Regions from separate parts of the Homo sapiens genome. Here region 1 is linked to region 2. The links are contacts of gene promoters, found by promoter capture Hi-C in blood cells and fetal thymus (Javierre and others, 2016). All regions are on one chromosome and are shown on one strand. The core of a region is centred on a gene start or on the middle of the fragment in contact, and the rest is flanking DNA. Distances in the headings are between cores, read along the strand shown. Region 1 has its middle 3.8 kb from the start of LINC01684. Region 2 holds the start of MIR155HG (MIR155 host gene).

Region 1 (4,081 bases), core at 1,511-4,010, 1.1 Mb after region 2:
ATTCTGTGGAAGAAAAAAAGAGAAAACTTTATAGAAACAATGCCCCCAATAAATCAGCAGTTTACAACAGATAGCTAACTTTAAGAAGGGATGAGATAATGTTGAAGATGAAGCTTGCAGTGGCAGAACATCCACACCAATTTGCAAGGAAAAAAATTAATCCTGTTTCTGCCCTAATTGAAGCAGACAGAAGACCAATAACAGAAACAATAGCCAACAACATACATATCTCAACTTGTTCAGCTTCCATAATTCTGACTGAAAAATTGAAGTTGAGAACATTTTCTACTTGATAGGTGCCAAAATAATTGCACCGAGATCAGCGGCAGACCAGAGAAGAGCTTTCAGTGGAAATTTTAAACCAAATGGGATCAAGATCTTGAAGCAATTATTTTAAACATATAACAAGAGATGAAACAAAGCTTCACCAGTACAATCCTAAAGACAAAGTACAATCAAAACAATGGCTACCAAGAGGTAGAAGTGGTCCAGTCAAAGCAAAAACAGACTGGTCAAGAGCAAAGGTCATTGCAACAGGTTTTTAGAATGCTCAAGGCATTTTACTTTCTGAGTTTCTGGAGGGCCAAGGATAATAACATCTGCTTATTATAAGAGTGTTTTGAGAAAGTTAGCTAAAGCGTTAGCAGAGAAACACTCAACAAAGCTTCACTACCATGACAATGTTCCTGCTCATTCTTCTCCTAAAACAAAAACAATATTGTGAGAATTTCAATGAGAAATTATTAGCCATCCACTTTCCAGTCCTGATTTGGTGCCTTCTGGCAATTTCTGGGTTTCCTAACTTTTAAAATTATGTAAAGAACAGCCATTTATTTATGTAATAATATAAAAACAGACTGCATTGACATGGTTAAATTCCAAGGACTCTCATTCCTTTATGGAGGGACTAAATGTTTGGAGTCACTTATAAAAGTGTTTTGAACTTAATGGAGTGTCTGTTGAGAAATAAAGTTTGTATTTTTTATTTTTATATTTTAATTCAATTTTTCCATGAATTTTTGAAGTCTCATTATAGCTTCACGTTTAAATTGGGATGTGGAAGTTGACTCCAGGCTTTTGATTATTTATGATTCTTATTAATTTTTAAAAATTATTATTACTTAGGTGATGGCTCAGTTTTTCACACAGTTATGGTTGTTACCCCTCCTGTGAAGGCATTTGAATTTGTTAAAAACAAAGTATGAATTTAAAAGCATGAATTATTTTAAAAAGTCTGTGATCTCTAGACATCTGGCCTTGTATATTTTATTATTTCTTTGTGAATATAACATTGCTTTAAACTCTTACTCTCAAATTCTCGGCACATCACTGCATCCTCAGGACATCCTCTATCATGATTCTGCCAAGGTCAAATAGTTAGTAATTCACAATATCCATAGCTCAAATTCATTAAGCTCTCACTATGCTTCAGAGAATGTTGTTTCAGAGCATTTTACATAAACTTCACATGCATCATCGTTAGCATCCTTACACTGGCTAAAATTTTTTATAAACACAATTGCTCACTACATGAAGCATTCCCTTTATATTCTTTTAAAACAGAAACTAAAACTTTCAAAGTTTGTGTAACTTACCTAATGTTATATGGCTTTGAAATTTCAGAAAATGATGGAACTTTTTTGAGCACTATATTATACTGCCATATTTCACTTATTATTATTTTAATTTATGACACTTCTTCATTACCAGTTATACAAGTTGGAATGTAACATTCATATCTGAAACTTTTTTTAAAAAAAGTTGAGGAGTTTATTAGGGAAACATGAGAGGCATAGACACTCCAAGTGACAGAAAGAAAAGTCTGAAAATGTCCCTTCAAGCCAAGTGGGGGCCTGGCCTCGACCTCCCCAAATCAACAGGGCAACTTTTTTTATCATCATCTCTTCATATATGTGAGTACGAGATCCACTGGGGTAAGACAGATTCTGGTTTGACTTACAGCTGAATCTCAGACACCCTGTACAGTGCCTGACATGTAGAAGTGGATGAATCATTTGTGGAAGAAAATGAGGAAGGCGTAAAGGAAGAAAGAAAAGAGAAAGGAAGGGGGAGATGATTAAAAAAGAAAGGTGAAAAGGAGGAAGGGCAGAAAAGAGAAAGCAGAAGAACTTGCAGTTTTGTGTTTTAGATTCAGCGTGGTGGACAATATTGAGGAACAAGCCATTCCATTTTTCTCAAGCTTACTTAATTCCACATATTTGCCTTTTGTGATAATTTAGCTATGTCCACACCTAATTATAAAAGAGGGGGAGACATGTATTTTAGTTGGGCAGTCATGTTAATTATCTCTGCTAATTATCTCTGCTGAAGATAAAAGGGGTAAAATTTGGTAATATCATAGGGGTTTTAGCCACAAACACTTTGCCTAAATTCCTTTGCAATCCCTACTCTGTATATATAAAATATATTTTTCTTTATAGAAGGAATCCAATTTCCAATCCTTCCATGACACCTTTCCTAATTTTACTGTGTAACATATGCAATATATTAGCATTCAATTATATATTAAATTAATTTAGTGACCTGACTGTGAATATTATCTATCATAGCCAGTCTCTCTTCCACTTTCTCTGTCCTCGCTATGCTATTATCCTTGTTGTTTCTTGAATAGCCAAACATGACTCCGGCTTAAGGCTTTTGCTTTCACTGGTCCTGCTCCCTAATCAAATTCTCTCTGTCACTGTCAAGGTTCACACCCTCATTTTTAGATTCTTCATTCAGATACTGTCTTCTCATTAATGTGAACTTCTCTGAACATCCGCTTGAAAATCCCAAAGTCCCCATGATTTCAATCTGTTTCTCTGATTATTTGTTCCCTTGGCTTTTATTATTAAGTTACCATTTGTTTTGCTTATTTGTTTTCCCATGTCTAGAGGGCAAAGATATTTCCCCCCTTGTTTACTGCCTTATCCTCCACATTAGCATTACTACATGTTTAATAATTATGTACTGAGAAAATCATTATTTGCCATAAATATAACACCATCGGTATAGAGATCAATTTGTGTTAGAACAAAATGTGACTATTTTTACATTTTTGCACGGTCATGACTTTCTGGGCAAAATGTACTGGCAATCCAACTTAAAAGAAAATGAGGAAGAGGCAAACAAGTCCTGGAAATTAAAGATAAAAACCCTAGGGAAATTTACAAATTCATCATCTCTAGAGCCATTCATTTACATAACAACAGGTAATCAATTTCTAACCCATTCATTTACATTTTAAAGAGTTGAAGCAACTTAGGGACCTTTTTGTACACTTCCCAGAGGGGATTTGTTTACATTAGAGAAAAAGCTTTCTCTTCTTTCTCAAGAAGGGAAGAAAAAATATGTACAAATTGCCCTATGTAAGTTTGGAGATTTTGTAAGGGTGGAGCTCCAATCCTGTACTGCAGATGCCTCTTCTATATGTGCAGGTTACTTCTGTAGAAATGAAACAAGCAGAACCTGTGTTAAGATATTCTATAAGCAAATGATATTTTTAACCTCTGATTCATAAACTTTGTTTTTACTGTCAGATTTTAAAAAATAAATATAAATATAAAAAATATCAATTTAGGTAAAGAAGGTGGAATCTTGTCATAAACATGATTAGCTGGAAAAAAAAAAAGCAAGGGCCCATTAGCTAGTAGATATTGGTAGCAAGCATACTGACTAAATCATTTAGCCAATTAGTAATATGTGGTTCTCCTCCTTTTTCTTTAATGAGGAATTAAGAAGATGTTTGTTACGTAGGAAGTAGGATTAATACAAGGAGCTTAATTGTTGCTGCTGTTTTTCACTTTCTCCTCCAAAGAGAAGTGAAAGATTATTTAATTTCTATAGCTGGAACATGGTTTGGGGAAGCTCAGCTGCTATTCTTGAACCTGAAAGGAACTGTGTCTCATTCACTGACACAGATATAAGCTTTTCCATGTTCACCTGATCTCTTGTGCCCTTCTACAAAGGACTTTACTACTTTAAAAATTAGGGGTGAGTCCAAGGTCTCACTGTGGATGTTATACCCCATATTTGGAAATTTCAAGCAGAGAAGGATTTTAATTGTTATGGCTCTTTTGGA
Region 2 (3,854 bases), core at 819-3,318:
GAGGGTTACAAATTTTCCATGTTGGCATATGGAAAGTAAAGAATGGCAAAATTTGTAGCACATTCTAATTAGTTCAAATATCTATGTTACCAAAATTGAAATGATATCAAATTGCACAGCAATGTCCTGATGGCCTTTCCTCTAACTTTCTGGGTTTGTAAGGGTAGGGTTGTGCCTATCCTGCTCACCTTTGTCTCTCCAGTGTCTAGCATAGCGTCCAGCACAGGCAGACTATGATGCCTGTTTTTTTTTTGTTGTTGTTTTTTTTTTTTTTTTTTTGGTAAAGACCAGTGAATTACACTTTTTACACATGACTAGGTTAAAACAAAAGTAGACATTTGTGCAAACACCACTGTTCTCCCTTGAAGTGGTTGTAGGTCTCAGACAGTGCTAATTTTTCTCTTTCTTAATGTGTGTGGTTAGGAAGCTGGGTCCTGTGGCCAGAGTGAGCTGACCCACTATGTGAGGAAACTTACTTATCACAGCCTAATAAGGAGTAGTCCTTGCAGCAGAAGTAATTACTAAATGTGCTTTGGTCATTTGACAGAAATCAGGGAGGCAGCAAGGAGTCATGGAAATGAGCCCAAACTGAGAGTCAAAACCCTGTGGTCTGCCGACACCCCCATCCCACATCCGTACCTAAAAGCAGGCTGTGCACTAGGGACCTAGTGACCTTACTAGAAAAAACTCAAATTCTCTGAGCCACAAGTCCTCATGGGCAAAATGTAGATACCACCACCTAACCCTGCCAATTTCCTATCATTGTGACTATCAAATTAAACCACAGGCAGGAAGTTGCCTTGAAAACTTTTTATAGTGTATATTACTGTTCACATAGATAAGCAATTAACTTTACATATACCCGTTTTTAAAAGATCAGTCCTGTGATTAAAAGTCTGGCTGCCCTAATTCACTTCGATTATACATTAGGTTAAAGCCATATAAAAGAGGCACTACGTCTTCGGAGAGATGAATGGATATTACAAGCAGTAATTTTGGCTTTGGAATATACACATAATGTCCACTTGACCTCATCTATTTGACACAAAATGTAAACTAAATTATGAGCATCATTAGATACCTTGGCCTTTTCAAATCACACAGGGTCCTAGATCTGCTGTGTGATGCTGGAAAAGTAACTTCACTTCTGTGGGCCTCAGCTCCTTAATTTTTAACATACTTTGGATTCTTATATCTTTGTCAGCTGTCAACTTCAGTGTTTTCAGGTTAAATTCTATCCATAGTCATCCCAATATACCTGCTTTAGATGATACAAACTTCAAAAGATCCGGCTCTCCCTCGTAAAACGTGGAGGACAGACATCAAGGGGGTTTTGTGAGTAAAGAAAGGCAACCGCTCGGCAAAAACGCACCCTGGCACAACAGGAGCGAATAAATACAGACGCTGATTGAGCGTTTGCTCCATCTTCACTTCTGTTAAATGAAGACATTGATATCTAAAATGCTATGAGTCTAACTTTGTAAAATTAAAATAGATTTGTAGTTATTTTTCAAAATGAAATCGAAAAGATACAAGTTTTGAAGGCAGTCTCTTTTTCCACCCTGCCCCTCTAGTGTGTTTTACACACTTCTCTGGCCACTCCAACAGGGAAGCTGGTCCAGGGCCATTATACAGGTACGTCCCCAACCATCCAAGGAAACTTTGCAAAGAAGCTCAAGTATTAGGTTTCGAACACCCCTCCTTCCCCCTGCCTCTGCCCGCGGGAATCCATCCAGCGCAATCTCTGGTCCCGGGCGAGGCGACACCACTGAGTCCCCAGGGGGCACCCGCAGGCGCGCGCGGGACCAGGCCGGGCTCCACGGCCACGTGCGCGCTGCCCCCGCCTTGCCTCGCCAGTTAACCCGGCGGTGACCCTCGCACCGAAGTCCCCCGGCGTCCCTGCCACGTTCAAGAGAGGAAAGGCGGGCGGGAGCGCGAGACTGAAGTCGGCGTACCTGCAGTGCCAGGAGCGTCTCCTTGGTTCCCCGCGCTTGCTCTGCGGGCGGCTCGGGGCTCCGCTATCCGCTCCCTTCCCGAGGCTGCAGGCGGCGCTGGGCCCGGGCTCGGCCGCGCACAGGAAGCCCGCGCCTGCGAACGTGCGACCCTTTTATAACTCACTTGTGACTCATAACCGACCAGGCGCCTTTTCTGCAACCCCCCCCCCCTTCTCCCCCCTCCTGCCTGTTCTTGGAACCTACAGCTTGAAAAACTTTTTTCTTTTTAAAGGAAAAGTCGAAAAAGCCCAGCGCCCGGGTAGTTGGTGTTTTCCCCTTTCCCTTTCTCGTGGGTCATTGCGTGTGTGTATTTTTTTTCTCTCAACACACGCCGTGTACTTTCCTGCACCGCGCCGCAAGGCTTGGGCTCCAACCTTTGTTCTTAAAGAAAAGGAAACGCCTTCAAATGACGGCCCAGACGTCGCCCGAACTTTCAGTCGGCTGGAGGGGGAAGTGGCGACTTCTTGCAACTGGGTGGCAGGAGTGTCTCTACTCTCTCCTTGCAGGGAGCCCGAGAGGAGCAAGTGGGAGGTTTTTCCTCCTGGACCGAATCAGCTGGAGACCAGCAGGTCCCTAAGAGAGGAAGAAATGGTCTTCAGGCGATCCTGGATTTCATCCCTACCTCATCACCCTTCAAGAGCCCGCGTTTGGTTTGGAATACGTAACTGGGCTTTGAGAACGTTTGTACTGTGTCTGGTACCCGCATTTATACTCGGGATGTCAAGATATAGGACTTAAAACTTCAAAAATTTTGACCTCAACAACATTCTCCCCCTGCCCTCCACTCCCATCTCCAGGACATATTCCTGGAGCATATGGGACTTCGGTCGTTTTAATTTTTGGTTTTGTCGCTTCTCTCTTTTCTCCCGGACCCTGCCACAAGGGGAACATTTTCCTGGAGCAGCCATTTGATTTTGGGGGATGGAAAGGAACAAATAGATCTAAAGCCTGGCAAGTTTATCCTACAAGCCTAGTCGAGTAACTCATTCATGGGTCTCAGTTCAATAAACGTTTAGACTTGAAGAAGAATAAGGAAATATGGGGAAGAGAAGGAGGACAGGAATAGATCTAGCCTCATCAACATGTGACTGGGGCCTTTTTGTAAGAAAGACGGGGCCACTGCTGGATTGCATTGCAAGTATCCAGTACTTGGACCTCCCTGTCAAGGGCACAAGACATTTTAGAATAGTTTGTATTAAACTGATGCCAGTTACATGTCAGAATACATGTCAGAGCTGGAAATCCCATAGTACTTAATTTACAGATGGCTCAGGTTGGTTAAGGAACTTGGGAGCATTTTAAAACCCTCTATTCTTAAGATACATGCTTTTTCTCTTATAATTCAAACAAGAATAATCATGATGATAACAACTAACACTTATAAAGCATTTACCATGTGCCAGATCCTGTCCTAACACTCCTTATATGCATTAACTCTTTCAGTCCTCACTATGATCATATGAGGGAGGAGCATTATAATCTCTATTTCCAGATGAGGAAACTGAGCACAGAGAGATTAAACATGTTACCTTAGATCCTAGTAAGTAGTCAAGCTGAGATTCAAACTCAGTTCCAACCCTGGAGGGCTGGCTCCGTAGTCCAGTCTCCCTGCTTTCCAGATCCATGTGACGTTGAGGAGCTGGGGAAGTTGTGCAGTGGGGCATGTGGCAAGGATGCATGGTCCCCACCCAGGTGGGGCACGTCCCTCTGCTGGTTACAGATGCCTACAATGCCTTTCTGAATTTCCCATTTCTCATTCTAGGTTGAACTATAAGAAATTGCCCATAGGCAATTCTAGGGTGACCTTTCATCCCCAGAATGACAAGTTTGTATAATGCACTTTAATAGAAACAGGAAATT

What was found. Contacts are between HindIII fragments. The CHiCAGO score rates a contact against its expected background, and 5 or more counts as called.
Region 1: a fragment that was not itself captured here is called in contact with the fragment with the promoter of MIR155HG in region 2 in 2 of 17 cell types (M1 macrophages and M0 macrophages); the score reaches 6.6 in M1 macrophages.

Annotation. Positions count from the first base shown.
Region 1 is chr21:24,422,943-24,427,023 of GRCh38, reverse strand. No RefSeq gene overlaps it. Among named protein-coding and RNA genes, the nearest start is that of LINC01684, 3.8 kb to the left of the region's middle. The HindIII fragment of the contact is 1,116 bases long and covers 2,203-3,318 here.
Region 2 is chr21:25,560,359-25,564,212 of GRCh38, reverse strand. MIR155HG (MIR155 host gene) reads right to left here and starts at 2,068. Exons shown (of 3, transcript NR_001458.3): 1 at 1,956-2,068. RefSeq lists silencers at 1,724-2,003, 2,014-2,103 and an enhancer at 2,484-2,533. The HindIII fragment of the contact is 13,141 bases long and covers 1-3,854 here.